4 separate regions of the Homo sapiens genome follow, and all the other regions are linked to region 1. Evidence: promoter capture Hi-C in 16 types of primary human blood cells and fetal thymus (Javierre and others, 2016). All regions are on one chromosome and are shown on one strand. The core of a region is centred on a gene start or on the middle of the fragment in contact, and the rest is flanking DNA. Distances in the headings are between cores, read along the strand shown.

The links. Contacts are between HindIII fragments. The CHiCAGO score rates a contact against its expected background, and 5 or more counts as called.
Region 2: a fragment that was not itself captured here is called in contact with the fragment with the promoter of USP37 in region 1 in 11 of 17 cell types (endothelial precursors, erythroblasts, naive CD4 T cells and 8 more); the score reaches 8.7 in endothelial precursors.
Region 3: a contact is called between a fragment that was not itself captured here and the fragment with the promoter of USP37 in region 1, in 10 of 17 cell types (naive CD8 T cells, fetal thymus, naive CD4 T cells and 7 more). The highest score is 8.5, in naive CD8 T cells.
Region 4: a fragment that was not itself captured here is called in contact with the fragment with the promoter of USP37 in region 1 in 12 of 17 cell types (endothelial precursors, fetal thymus, naive CD4 T cells and 9 more); the score reaches 14.0 in endothelial precursors.

What each region holds. Positions count from the first base shown.
Region 1 is chr2:218,566,629-218,570,255 of GRCh38, reverse strand. USP37 (ubiquitin specific peptidase 37) reads left to right here and starts at 1,905. Exons shown (of 26, transcript NM_020935.3): 1 at 1,905-2,078. CNOT9 (CCR4-NOT transcription complex subunit 9) reads right to left here and starts at 1,417. Exons shown (of 8, transcript NM_005444.3): 1 at 1,278-1,417. The coding sequence starts at 1,301. RefSeq lists enhancers at 823-1,012, 807-1,434, 1,435-2,062 and silencers at 1,723-1,782, 1,873-1,942. The HindIII fragment of the contact is 2,574 bases long and covers 580-3,153 here.
Region 2 is chr2:218,455,860-218,459,486 of GRCh38, reverse strand. It overlaps USP37 (ubiquitin specific peptidase 37), which reads left to right. Exons shown (of 26, transcript NM_020935.3): 24 at 2,326-2,395. Among named protein-coding and RNA genes, the nearest start is that of VIL1, 39 kb to the right of the region's middle. The HindIII fragment of the contact is 1,496 bases long and covers 738-2,233 here.
Region 3 is chr2:218,672,980-218,676,606 of GRCh38, reverse strand. STK36 (serine/threonine kinase 36) reads right to left here. Exons shown (of 27, transcript NM_015690.5): 3 at 2,842-2,982; 4 at 2,651-2,728; 5 at 1,134-1,264; 6 at 329-578. Among named protein-coding and RNA genes, the nearest start is that of STK36, 2.7 kb to the right of the region's middle. The HindIII fragment of the contact is 1,348 bases long and covers 1,110-2,457 here.
Region 4 is chr2:218,649,704-218,653,330 of GRCh38, reverse strand. It overlaps ZNF142 (zinc finger protein 142), which reads left to right. Exons shown (of 11, transcript NM_001379659.1): 5 at 1,031-1,630; 6 at 2,805-2,972. Among named protein-coding and RNA genes, the nearest start is that of ZNF142, 8.1 kb to the left of the region's middle. The HindIII fragment of the contact is 7,287 bases long and covers 1-3,627 here.

The DNA.
Region 1 (3,627 bases), core at 656-3,155:
TCCTTAAATCATTTCCCTTTGGTTAAACAGAAAAAGCAGAATTGGTCTTCAGGCAGGTATGCTCAAATCAAATGATCTCCTTTCCCCATCATGGCAATGTTCTTTCAGTGGTCACCTTCCCTTCAATATTCTTTCATGCAGCAAAGTATCTGAGTCTTTAATCTTGTACTAGGAACTGTCCTGGCACCGGGGAAACCACGTCAACAGGGCTCACATGATCCCTGTCCCTGCCCTCAAGGAGACAGACAACAAATAAACGAATACAATAATTACACGGGGATCAGGGCTGTAAAGGGTACTCTACTAAAGTTAGAGGCTGCGGAACTAATTTGAAGAGGATAGTCAGGGAAGGCCACTCTGAGACCGATTTAGGCAGAGACCTGAAGAAAGATGGATTTGGATAAACAGTTTAAGGAGAGGAAGGAGAGTTCAAGGAAGAGGTACCAATTACACTCATGCTGTGTATGTAAAGGAGGAGGGATAAGAAGAACATTCACTCCAGGCATAGAGACCACAAAGTGCATCTTGGAGAAAAATAAGCGCGTTGCAGAGGGTTAGGTGGCCAGAGTAGCTGAAGCTTTAGGAGCAAGAGACATAAAACGAGATTATAAACGTGGGTTAAGTACCACATCATACAGGGCCGTGCAGGCTATGGCAAGGAGTCTAGATTTTATTTAAATGCCAAGAGAAGTAGGATTACTTCGGATAGCTGAATTACACTATCTTTCTTTTTTGTTAAAAGATCACGCGGGTAAAACGAGATGTGTCGAGGAAAAGTTTTAAATGCAGAGAACCTAAGTCAGATGCAAAAATTATGCACTTTTCCGGGCCTCAGGTTTTCCATAAATAAAGCAAGTGGTTTGAACTAGAAGCCATTTCCTTCCCGCTGCGACGTGGTGAGTTCTAAGAGCAGGGGCCGCGTCAGATTGACCATGGAATTCCCCTCATCGACGCCGGCGCCCAGAACACAACTGGCGCCCTGAAACTGTTGGTCAGCGCAATAAATCAATGAATGGCCTGCTACGGGCGTGGGACCAGGCCCCGGCGCCCGCAAAGAACGCGATGGGTCGCGCTGAAGGCCGCGAGAGGCGTCCGGCAAGGAAATAGGGGCCGGCTCCACCACAACCAAAGCGTGCCGAGGAGGGGAACCGGGGCCTTGGAGATTGAGGGCAGAAAAAAATCAGACTAGGGACCCGACACCGGGAATTAGGAGAGAAGGCCGAAACGTGGGTCTGAGAAAGGATTCTGGTTCCAAGCCTGGGGGCCCAGCCACTCACCGCAGCCGTCGCCAGGCTGTGCATGTTGTGAGCGGCCGCCGCTCTCTTCCACAGCCGGACGCGTCCGACCCGCGTCCCCCCTTCAGCACCCCTGCAGCGGAAAACAATGAGCCGCCGTAGCCGCCATCCGACTCCGGCTCGCTCCGCCCACTTCGCGGCCCTCTGACCTCTCACCCCTGACCCCACCCACACATCCTCTTCCCGCCTCCAGGGCCTAGTTAACAGTCCCAGAGTATGTCCTTTGCCCCTTAAGATTTAGGACCGGAAGGACGTCCGCGACCACTAGTCCCCGCAACTTCTGGCTTTGAGCAGTTATTTCCAGAGAGCGGCGTGAACTCTGACCCTCCTCCAAAAGCCAGTGAACGGCGGGAAAAGATGGACAGTCCCGGCAAGACAACTATTGCGCATGCCCGACTGGGTTGCGTAGGAGGGAAATGGTGGGGGGGCGTCGAAATCGGGTGAGGTGGAAAGTGCGCGTGCCTACTACAGTCACGGCAGGGGCGGGGCTGCCCGGGCTAGGCCGCTCTAGGTACTGGCGGGGCGGGGCGAGGGCGTGTGAGGGGCGGAGTTTTCGACTGACGCGCACGCGCCTGTCTGGTCGCGTCGAGTGTGCGTGCGTGCGTGCGTGTTTGCGTGTGGTCACAGTTCCCGCCATCAGCCGCTCTCCCTGACTAGGGGTAGCTAGCGGCCTCCCTCCTTTGGGTTCGGTATCCCTACTTCCATTACCCTCGGCTCCTCCCACTCCTCGCGGGCTCCGTGCTTTCCGCGGGTCTGTCCGGGGGCTCCGGACCCTCGGCGCAGGTAAGGCGGGCCGGGGTAGCTTCTCAATTGAGCCGTTTTCCCTACCTCCTCCTCCTTCTGTGCGATCCGCCCACTCGGCGTTCACTCCTCTGGAGTTCGCCCTGCTGCTACTCAGCCCGCCCACAACCCCTCGATGCACCCCCAGCCTCACAGGTACTACCTTTGGGTGCACTGCCCCGGCTTCCACCTCTCCTTTGACTTGGTCTCCACTGCCACTCGCTCCCTCCGAAACTCAAACCTGGCCCCTTTTCTCTGGGGCTGTTGTCGTTCGCCTCTTACCTTCTAACAGGGCCTGCTGTCTCTTCAGGTGACTTTCGTTACGGCACATCCACCAGGCCTTGGACATGATACTCATTCACTCTCTTGACCATCTTCACCTTCCTCTTGACCAGTCCTCACTGCAAAACATGAATTGTATTTTTGTTGTGCATTTCCTTGCGCCCATTTCTAGCCGCCAGATCAGGTTGTTAGATGTAACTATTTTAAGTCATGATCCATGAAAGGAAATGATGATTGATGATAAAATCCTGTGTCCTGAAGAGTTGTCCTAAAGTGGTTTTGGGGTATTCCTCTCAAAATTTCAGCTCTGTATAAATTCCTTTATTGAGGTGGCAATTCCTGACAAGTGTCTAACTGGAAGAGATACCTGAGAGGGAATGTCAAGTAGGCAGTTGGATATAGTGGGTTTGGAGATCTTAGGAGAGTTCTGGGCTGCGTACGTAAATGTGCGCGGTGTGTGTATGTGTTTGTCATCTGCCATATTGATAGTAATTGAAGCCATGGATGTGGATGAAATTGCCGAAAAAGAGTATAGTGCTGTAAAATAAAGGCACCTAGGATGGAGCATTGACGAATTCCTGCTGTTTAATAACCAATAGAGGAGGATGCGTCTTGCAAGCCATGAAAAAAGTCATCAGTAGTGTTGCATTCTGCTGAAAGGTAAAATGGAAGGAGGACTGAAAAACCCAGTGATATAAAAGTACTCACTTGTCTTAAAGATGTTTGATGAAGTAAAATGAGTATTTGGGTTCAGTCCTAGGTCCTCTTCTTTTACTCTTATATTCCTCCCTAAGCTTTAAATTTGATCTATATATTGATGACTTAAAAATTGTTATTTCCAGCCTATTCCCTTTGTTTTCAGCTCCACATCTAGATAGCCAGCTGTCTGCTTGACATCTCAACTTGATTTTTTTCTTAGGAGTTTCAGATGCAACACAGCCAAATCCAAAGCCTTGATCTTTCTCTCCATATCGAAATTCTTTCTTCTCCAGTGTCCCAGTTTATTAAGTGGCACATGACACAGGCTACACACTTGGGAGGCATTCTTGACTTCTACTCTCTCCAAGTTCTATCCTACTTCCAATACGTGTCTTGCATCTTTTTCTGTACATTTTCACTGTCACTTTTCTAGTTTAAGCCACAGTCCTTAAAAAACCTGGACTTGATTGCCTTGGCTTCCTGTATTATCATCTGTAAAATGGAAATAGTAATTTTCAGCCTATTGGATTGTTATGAGGATTAAGTGAGATAACCATGATAAGCACTTGGC
Region 2 (3,627 bases), core at 236-2,735, 110 kb after region 1:
ACGCCTGTAATCCCAGCACTTTGGGAGGCTGGGGCAGGTGGATCACCTGAGATCAGGAGTTCGAGACCAGCCTGACCAACATGGTGAAACCCTGTCTCTACTAAAAATGCAAAAATTAGCTGGGCGTGGTGGCACACGCCTGTAATCCCAGCTATTTGGGAGGCTGAGGCAGGAGAATCACCTGAACCTGGGAAGAGGAGGAGGTTGCAGTGAGCCAAGATTATGCCATTGTACTCCAGCCTGGGCAACAAGAGCGAAACTCCATCTCGGGGGGAAAAAATTACCTTTAGTTACACTGAATAACTGTATCATCTTTATAATTAAATACCAAAAACGGTTGTTCCTCACTGAAAACTATTGAATTGGTGATGTTAATTAGGGCACATTGAACTGTTTTTTTTTTTTTAACCCTTTTTCCCCCCTTAAATAATTGCTTTTTCTCCTCAAATTTTGATTATCCAGGATCCTACCATCCTAACACAATTACTCTCAGCACTTTGACATATTTCTTTGTTATTCTCACCTCCATGTATACTTTTTAAAAAGTCGTAAGTATAGTTTTTATTTCATTTGCTTTTTTGTTCTAGAGACAGAGTCTCACTGTGTTGCCCAGGCTGGCTTCAGACTCCTGGGCTCAAGGGATTTTCCTGCCTCAGCCTTCCAAATGGCTGGAACTAGAGGCACACACTGCCACACCCAGGTTATCCTGTTTCTTAAAGAGTAGTTATTTATAAGCTTATGTTTAATGGCTGTACTATATTGCCTCAAATAAATATCCTACTTATTTAACTTTTAGCTAACATTGAGTATTTGTCTAAGTTGTTTTTAATTTTTCACTATGATAATAAGTTGGGAAACTGTATGCTTATAGCATTTTCCTTATTTTATTTTATTTTATTTTTTAATTTTTTTGAGACAGAGTCTCGCTCTGTCACCCAGGCTGGAGTGCAGTGACACGATCTCAGCTCACTGCAACTTCCTCCACTTCCTGGGCTCAAGCGATTCTTGTGCCTCAGCCACCTGAGTAGCTGGGATTGCAGGCATGAGCCACTATGCCCAGCTAATTTTTGTATTTTTAGTAGAGATGCAATTTCACCATGTTGGCTAGGCCAGTCTCAAATTCTTGGCCTTGAGGGATCCACCCATCTCTGCCTCCCAAAGTATGGGGATTACAGGCCTGAGCCACTGCACCTGGCCAAACATAGAGTTGTTTTTTTTTTTTTTTTTTTTTTTAGGCAAGGTCTGTCTGTCACCCAGGCTGGAGTGCAGTGGCGTGTGCTCTTGGCTCATGCATTTTCTATATTTTAGAATTTCTCCTTTTATATTCTCCAGAAGTAAATTACTAAATCGAAGTTTATGAACATTTTAAGTTTCTGGTTTACATATAGCCATATTCCTTCCCCCAATTTTTTTTTTCTTTTCTTTTCTTTTCTTTTTTTTTTTTTTTGAGACAGAGTCTTGCTCTGTCGCCCAGGCTGGAGTGCAGTGGCCCGATCTCAGCTCACTGCAAGCTCCACCTCCTGGATTCATGCCATTCTCCTGCCTCAGCCTCCCGAGCAGCTGGGACTACAGGCGCCCGCCAGCTAATTTTTTGTGTTTTTTTAGTAGAGACAGGGTTTCACTGTGTTAGGCAGGATGGTCTCAATCTCCTGACCTCGTGATCTGCCCACCTTGGCCTCCCAAAGTGCTGGGATTACAGGCGTGAGCCACCACGCCTGGCCTTCCTTCCCCAAATTTTACCTTATAGTGCTGTCTGCAGTGCATGAATATCACTTTTTCAGTTTTGCTTTATTTTACCAAAAATATTTTAATCATATTTTTTAAAATATAAAAGTTCACTCTGATCCCTACAGCAACATAGCAACTCTTTTTAACATTTTTGTTCTATTGTCCAATGCCTAACTCTTAACGTAACATTTTTTTAATAGAGTTATAGTTACTATGTGCATTCATATGGGTTTGGAAAAAAGGTTAACATGTTCCTGATCCATGTAGTTTTTTTATATAACTGAACATTATTATATTGAATTGATATACTAACCAGTTAGCTATTATTGGATATATTGTTGGTTCCAGCTTTTCACCAGATAATGCCACAGTAAATAATTTGATACATATACTCTTCTTTTGACTTATTTCCTTAGAATAAATTCTTAGTTGAGGGTGGAATTCTTGGGTCAAAGGGTATGAACAGATTTTTTAATTGATTCTTACTATGCCACATACCAAAGCTTAGCCATGTCAGCTTTGATAATAAATTTATATTCAGTGTTTTGCTTTTATTCAAATGAAGACTTAAAAGTTATACCCACTTCTGTTTTCCAGACAGGAAATCTGCCTCATTCGTACCGGCTCATCAGTGTTGTCAGTCACATTGGTAGCACTTCTTCTTCAGGTGAATAGCCATCATGATTTCAGCATTTTATAAATGAACTAGTCAGCATTTGCTCTTTATTATATTGCTCTTTGCCTAGCTTTGTGAAGTGTGTTTTTCTTTTTCTTTTTCTTTTTTTTTTTGAGATCCAGTCTCACTCTGTTGCCCAGGATGGAGTGTAGTGGCACAATCTCGGCTCACTGCAGCCTCCACCTCCTGGGTCCAAGTGATTCTGCTGTCTCAGCCTCCCAAGTAGCTGGGATTACAGGCATGCACCACCACGCCCAGCTAATTTTTGCATTTTTAGTAGAGATGGGGTTTCACCATATTGGCCAGGCTGGTCTTGAACTCCTGGGATCAAGAGATCCACCCACCTTGGCCTCCCAAAGTGCTGGGATTACAGACGTGAGCGACCATGCCCAGCCCACGAAGTATAAGTTTTTCAAGAAAATCTTTGAAATCTACTTTGATCACACTCAATGTGCATTGTGTTAATAGGTGTAACTGTTTTGATTTCTCAATTCATAAGTGACCTAAATTCCCCTGAACAAAATACATTAATCAAAAATGGTGTACCAGTGTAGCATATGCCTCCTTGATTCTCTGTGTATATACAAATATTTTTTTCTTCTTTTTTCTTTTTTTTTTTTTCAAGAGACAGGGTCTCACTCTGTCACCAGGCTGGAGTGCAGTGGCACCATCATTAGCTCATTGCAGCACTGAATTCCTGGGCTCAGGAGCTCAAGAGATCCTCCTCCCTCAGCCTGCTGAGTAGCTGCGACTACACGTGCATGCCACCACACCTGACTAATTTTTTTAAATTTTTTGTATGGACGGGTTCTTGCTTTGTTGCCCAAGCTGGTTTCAAACTCCTGGCCTCAAGCAGTCCTCCTGCCTTGGCCTCCCAAAGTGCTGGGATTATAGGAGTGAGCCACTGTGCCTGGCCTGTATGTTTCTTCAATGGGTTTTAGACACAGTGTTGAGGATAAGGTGAATGTGGTAGCTTTTTTTCTTTCTCAAACTTCCTGCACCTGAGATAAAATTAATGCGTTTTTGTTTATTTTTTTGAGATGGAGTCTCACTCTGTCACCCAGGCTGGAGTGCAGTGGTGCTATCTCGGTTCACTGCAACCTCCACCTCCTGGGTTCAAACAATCCTCCTGCCTCAGCCTCCTGAGTAGCTGGGACTACAGGCGCACGCCACCATGCCTGGCTAATTTTTGTATTTTTAGTAGAGACGGGGCTTCACCATGT
Region 3 (3,627 bases), core at 534-3,033, 110 kb before region 1:
TTCCTTTCTCTATCTTCCTCCTGGTCCACCACGTAAGACATGCCTGTTTCCCCTTTGCTTTCCGTCATGATTGTAAGTTTCCTGAGGCTTCCCCAGCCATCCTTCCTGTACAGGCTATGGAGCTGTGAGCCAATTAAACCTCTTTTCTTTATAAAATACCCAGTCTCAGGTGGTTCTGTATAGCAATGCGAGAACAGAATAACACAGCCATTAATTCAGTAACTGCAAAGTCCCGCCTCAGCTCTGGAAAAGGATTTGGAAAAAGGAACAGAGATAGAGGGAGACAGATTTCTAATGTAAAAGTCATCTCCCTTTCAATATTCATTACCTTAAAGCAGGGACTGATGGTTGAGGGCCAGCGCACAGGGTCCTTGAGAATGAGGCTGACCAGCTGAAAGATGCTTGTAGCATAGAAGGGAGGGGTGCCTACTGCCAGTTCATATAGTATGCAGCCAACAGACCAGAGGTCCGCTGTGTGGTCGTATGGTCGCTCCTCCACCAGCTCTGGAGACATATAGAGTGGTGTGCCTTTGATGGATGTCAGCACCATTGTATTGGTGCTCATAGCCCGGGCAAATCTGCAGAAGATAATGGGATGGAAATGGAAAGGGAAAAGATATTCTAAACCTGGTCACTACTACCTAACATAGAGATATCCCAAACCGGAGCAGAGGGAGCACCTTTGATTAGGTTCCAGAAGACCCAGCAGCAGTCCCAGCCTCTAGCTCCGGTTCTAAAATGAGGCCCAAATAAGTCAAGAGTATGGTCTAAGATTCCCTGTGGGGCCAGGCTCAGTGGCTCATGCCTGTAATCCCAGCACTTTGGGAGGCCGAGGTGGGCAGATCACCTGAGGTCAGGAGTTCGAGACCAGCCTGACCAACATGGAGAAACCCCATCTCTACTAAAAATATAAAATTAGCCAGGCATGGTGGCACATGCCTGTAATCCCAGCTACTCTGGAGGCTGAGGCAGTAGAATTGCTTGAATCCGGGAGGCAGAGGTTGTGGTGAGTGGAGATCGCACCATTGCACTTCAGCCTGGGTAACAAGAGTGAAACTCCATCTCAAAAAAAAAAAAAAAAAAAAAGATTCCGTGTGGAACTGGAAGCTTAGATGGATGCTCAGAATCTTTACCCAAAGTCACAGAGCTTGATGCCACCACCCTTGGCGAGGAGGATGTTCTGAGGCTTCATATCTCGGTGTAGGATGCGGTGGGAATGCAGATAGTACAGGGCTGACACCAACTGGGCAGCAATGGCCTGAACCTAGAAATTAAAGAGGTGGAAGAAAGAAAAAAAAGGTTAGAAACAGCAGCTGGCTGACAAGCCCAAAAATTTCTCTTAATATTACTGCTAATCTTTTCTTCCTTCCCTTTCTTGCAGAGCTTCACACTATTCTTTCTTAGTTATTGTTCCCCTTGTTTAATCACTCTTTCATTTGCTCATTCATTCATTCAAGAAAAATTTATTGAATCTCATTTACTATCTGCTTGACCATGGGCAAACTAAGGTGACAATCTATATAATAACACCATCTACATGGAGGATTATTGTGAGGACTGAGTTAAAGCATGCAAAATAATACTCAGAATGGTGCCTGGCACATAGTAAATATTCAATACACATTACCTGTTATTAAATAAGACAAAATGCCTTTTTTCAAGAAAAGTAGTCAGACAAACAAACAAGACAGATAAAACAAATATGGTGGTCGGGCGTGGTGGCTCACACCTGTAATACCAGCACTTTGGGAGGCTGAGGCGGGCAGATCACCTGAGGCCAGCAGTTCGAGACCAGCCTGGCCAGCATGGTGAAACCCCATCTCTACTAAAAGTACAAAATTAGCTAGGCATGGTGGCGCATGCTATAATCCTGGTTACTGGGGAGGCTGAGGCACGAGAATTGCTTGAACCTGGAAGGCGGAGTTTGCTGTGAGCCAAGATTGTGCCACTGCACTCCAGCCTGGGCAACAAAGCGAGACTCTGTCTCAAAAAATAAAATTCAATTAAAAATAAAATAATTTCAAAAATATGATTACTTACAAATAGTGGTGAGTGCTCAGAAGGAAAGAGAATGCTGCAATAATGAATCCCAGGGGGGGCCTACTTGCTTGGGTACAGACAAACGCCTAGAATAAATGTGGCTGGAGGATATGTGCAACAAAATCCCACTGCTAACCACTACGTCCTGGTGCCAAATCCTGACTCCCCACAACCTTTATTCTTACTGCCCTCTTTCTGGTACCATTACACTGGCCCTTCTTCCCTAAAGGTATCTAATAACAATAATGTTAATAATAGCTAACTATTCAAACACATTACATGACTTAACACTCTTCATCATAGACTTATCAGGCAAACATGATTATTATCTCCATTTTACAAATTAGGAAACTAAGCACAAAGAAATTAAAGTAACTTGTCCAATGAGACCCAGCTAGGAAGGAGCAGAGCCAAGCTTCCTGCTCAGATATTTTGACTCCAACGTTTACATAATTTACTCCCACACTACACTGCCTCTATATACCTAGACTCTTATATTCTTCTCAGAAGTCTTTGAAATGGAGACTCTCAGTGTCCTTAGCTTGCTCTACCAGTTCTCTAACCTGGAGAGAGGTCGGAGGTGGGGAGAAGTTGAAGGCAGAAAGCATACCTGGTCTTCAGGAAGTTTTCCGTCATCTTCTAGGATCTGAAAGAGCTCTCCCTCAGCATAGTCTGTCACCACCACCACCTACAGAGAGAAGGCAGTGGCACTGATGGCTCCAGATTCATGCATTCTGAGGTTGGGAAATTCCTGGAACCCTTGTGCTTGGGGAGACAGGGCCCAAAACTGTCAAAGCACACCTCTTTATCAGTTTCAAAGCTGTCAAGCATATGCACAATGTTGGGATGCCGCAGACCCCGCATTATTTCAATCTCTCGTTGCAAATTCCTCAGCTCCTTCTCTGAGCGCCCCAATTTTGGGATGAACTTCAGGGCCACGACCTGTCAGTGGTAAGGTGAAAAGTTAACGCCTAATCACACTACTGAAAAGATCTAGAATTTCAGCCTTAATCTCAGAGCTCCAGAAGTCAGATTTTAGAGTGTTTGAGTAACTCTTATTATTTCTGTTAGTCTCCCGCTTCCATTTTCTCCATGGTACCCTGGCCTTATCCAGGCTTTCCCCATTCCTCATCCCAGGAGGAAACAGCATCTGCAAAACATTTCCCCTTCTGGAAGAAGTGTTCTGATTTGACCAGCACTCAAGATGAGATTTAGGAGAAAGGAAAGGAAAAAAAAAATGAAGAGGAAATAATAGAGTTCAAGTGGTTTACCTCTTATTACATGGTGTGCTAGAGACTAATAATATTTGTTGTTTACTAACAGCCAGGCACTGTACTAAGTGATTTAATGTGAAAACATATTTAATCCTCAAACTCCATCAATCAGTTGCTGTTCTTATCCCCATTCTAGAGATAAGGAAATTGAGACATAGGGAAGTTAAGTAATTTGTCCATAATTCTAGGGCTAGAAAGCGGTGGAGATGGAATTTGCACCCAAATAATCCAACTTCAAAGCTTATACTCCATAAGAAGTATGAGGGAGTCAGTACCTTAGGAATACAAACTGGTATAAATACATTCCTTCTAG
Region 4 (3,627 bases), core at 344-2,843, 83 kb before region 1:
GCTGGGATTACAGGTGTGAGCCACTAGGCCCGGCCTGAAATTTTTTTTTTTTTTGAGACAGAGTCTCTCTCTTGGCCAGGCTGGAGTGCAGTGGGCAATCTCGGCTCACTGCAACCTCCACCTCTCATGTTCAAGCGATTCTCCTGCCTCAGCCTCCTGAGTAGCTGGGACTACAGGTGCGTGCCACCACGCCTGGCTAATTTTTTGTATTTTTAGTAGAGACGGGTTTTCACCATGTTAGCCAGGATGGTCTCGATCTCCTGACCTCATGATCCTCCTGTCTCAGCCTCCCAAAGTGCCAAGATTACAGGCGTGAGCCACTGCACCTGGCCCTGAAATTTTTTTTTTTAACAACAAAAAAAACAATAAAGAGCAAACAGACCAGCAGAATAAATGTAGGACAAACCTGGCCTTGAGTCATGGCTCTACCACTAATAAACATAGTAGTCTTAATCTCGTAGAATCTCAGGACCTTGTTGTCATAGGGCTGTTGGAGGACCAAATGAGAGCGTTTATTAAGCCTTTCTTTATCAAAGTCTTGCCCATTGCTTTTAAAACGGCAGCAATTATTATGGAGAATAATAATTATTTTCAGAAGGATATTCTCCATTTTATCCATTCCTGTGCCTTTGTAAAGCTCTTTACAGAATTTGAAAGTAAAGCTCTTAACCATTTATATTGCAGATATTATCCCTAGTTTGTCATTTTCTTTTGGAAGTTTCTGGTTTTCACTTGGGCAAAATATACTGTCTTAATGCTTTCTGGATTTGCTTGCTTGTTCACTCATTTAACAAATATTTATTAAGCACCTATCTTGTGCCAAGTATTGTGCTAGGAATCCAAACACACGTGCCAGATAGATGGTCCCTGACCTTATGGGGCCTACAGTCCAGGTGTAGGACCAGACTTAAAGTCCATCTGTACTCTACGAATATTAAAAGATTCACCTACATTTTCTACTAGTAACTAACTCCTATGAGTCTTGTTCCATCTGATTCTATGCCTTTCTCTGTCGGTCCTCTGCCTGCAGGTGTCCTGGTAAAGGTGGTGGAGGTGTACTTCTGTGAGCGCTGTGAACAGAGCTTCGCAGAGCCCACTCTGCTGGCCCTGCACCAGTGCAGTGAGACCCATATACAGCCTGTGCAGGGCCTCTCTAGCCCCCCATGCTCTGTAGAGCTGCCTCCCAGCAACCCAACCCTCCCTGGCCCTCTGCAGGGCCAGAGCCCGCCAGTTAGCCCCCTATCATGCCCTGTGTGTAGACAGGAGTTTGCCCAACCCCAGGCCCTGAAGAGCCACTTCAAGATTCACCGGGGCACTCCTGACACCTTCTCCTGCCCAGAATCTGGCTGTGTGTTCTCTGCTGAAGATCGCAAGGGTCTGCAGCACCACCTGAGGCAGACTCACAGAGCAGTTCCTGTGCCCTGTTCTTTCCGGGGCTGCCCCCTGCTTTTCGGGAGCCAGCAGGGCATGGAGCTGCACCGGCAGGCGCATTACCCTTTCCACTGCAGCCACTGCAGCTTCATAGGCTCCAACGTCAAACTCTTCCGGCAGCATCAGCGGAGCCATGGTGCTGGGACACAGGGAGAACTTTCTGCCGTTCAGGGCCTTCCATCCCAGGAGCTGCTGCCAGGTATGAGGCCAAGGGCCAAGCAGTTCCTCTCCTGGAGTTCAGCCACAGTTGATCTTATAGGAGAGGCAGTTGTTTCCAAGGCCATGAATGTACATGAATATAAGAGAATCTAGACAGTGGCTCAGGAGGATGGAGTTACTGGATGACATGGGAAGGCATCTTGAAACAGTTGGAATATATGGGACAAAGAGGAAGTCTTTGTTTGTGACAATGAGTGAAAGTTGGCTTAGGCTACGTGTGGCCTGAAGTTACTTAACCAATATTCTCTAATGATCCATTTCACAACTTTCTGAGAGCTAAAGTGAAAATGACCATCATTGGCTATGGCCACTGATAGAATGCCTGTAGACTTTCCTTTAGAGCAACTGGGGATTGGGCAGTAGAAGCCAGGGTTATTTTAAAAAGGAAATAACCCTTTGGGCTGGGCACTGTGGCACATGCCTGTGATCCCAACAATTTGAGAGGCCAAGGTGGATGGATCCCTTGAGCCCAGGAGTTCAAGACCAGCCTGGGCAATGTGGTGAAATGCTGTCTCTACAAAAAATACAAAAATTGGGTGTGGTGGTACATGTCTGTAGTCCCAGTTACTCGGGAGGTTGAGGTGGGGGATCACTTGAGCTCAGGAGGTGGAGGTTGCAGTGAGCCAAGATTGCAGCACTGCACTTCAGTCTGGATGACAGAGTAAGACCCTGTCTCAAAAAAAAAAAAAAAAAGAAGTAAAGAAAGGAACTTAGGAACTTTCAAGGGAGACGGCGTTTTAGTAGTTGTCATTCTTCTTGGTCCCAAAAAAGCATGAGAGAGCAGAGGAGCAGGAGGAAACAGAGAAAACGGGCCAGGAGAGGCCAGAATTCTGATAAGAGAAGGAATTGCAGTCTACCCATTCTCTACTTTCAGCCCCCTATGACCTCAATGACCTCGCTGCTGTCAGCTTCATGGAGTCTGAAAGTGGTGCTCTCTGAGGTTTGAGTTACTTTAGACTGGAACATTGCTAATAACTTAGCTCTTCGTCCTCCTATTTTCATCTTGAGTGGAAATACATTTATACATAAAACCCAAGATCTCCTTATGCTAAAAGTGGGAGAGGGTGATTATTTCAGCCAGTAGGTAGAGAAGTATAAGCATTTAGTGCTGTTATTGGCTCCTGTAGACTTTATCAAGTTTTATGTATCTCCAGCTCCCAAACTGCCTCCAGGAGAGAGAGAACCTTCACAGGAAGCAGGTACACCCTTGCCTGGGCAGGAGACAGCTGAAGAGGAGAATGTAGAGAAAGAAGAGAAGAGTGACACCCAGAAGGACTCCCAAAAGGCTGTGGATAAAGGCCAAGGGGCTCAGCGGCTGGAAGGTAATGACATTCTGAGGCTTGAAGCCCTTGGTGGTGGGGAAGAATGGATTGTTGAAACCCTGCCATTGAGGCTCTGGGGTTTGTTTTCTGAGCTTTGGTTCGGATCCTTTTATTCTGTTCTACCTTGACTCAAAAGTCAAGGTCTAGTGGGAAAATGATAAATGAGTGAATGGTAAAGACTTTAGTAATATAGCATTGGGGTAAATCGAGTTTGCTTCACTGGGCTGGTTTTCCTCAGGCAGAAAACTCTAGCAGGGAAGCAGGAGGTGATCTTCATCATATAGAGATGCCAGAAGTTATTGATGATCAGCAGCCTATTTTGTCTGGCACTGAGCCCTCAAATACTTTTTTCTGAATCTTTGCTTCCCAGTTTTTCACCTCAGTAGAATATTTGAAAGTCATCCCACAAGGAGCATAGTTATCAAGTGAATAAGAAAGATTGGGTTGTATTTATTACCAACTTCATTATTATCTAGAGCCTGTGAGCCAGTAAGAGTACTGTACCTTCTTTTGGCTCACCCCCTTGGGGGCTCTTTTCCTTCTAACTAATCTTGCCGATGCTTCTGCCTGCCCCCATAGAACAAGGCAGGAAAGAACAAGAATGCTCCATTCAGATTATTTTAAGCAGCTCTAAACAAAGGCTCAAGAAGAGCAG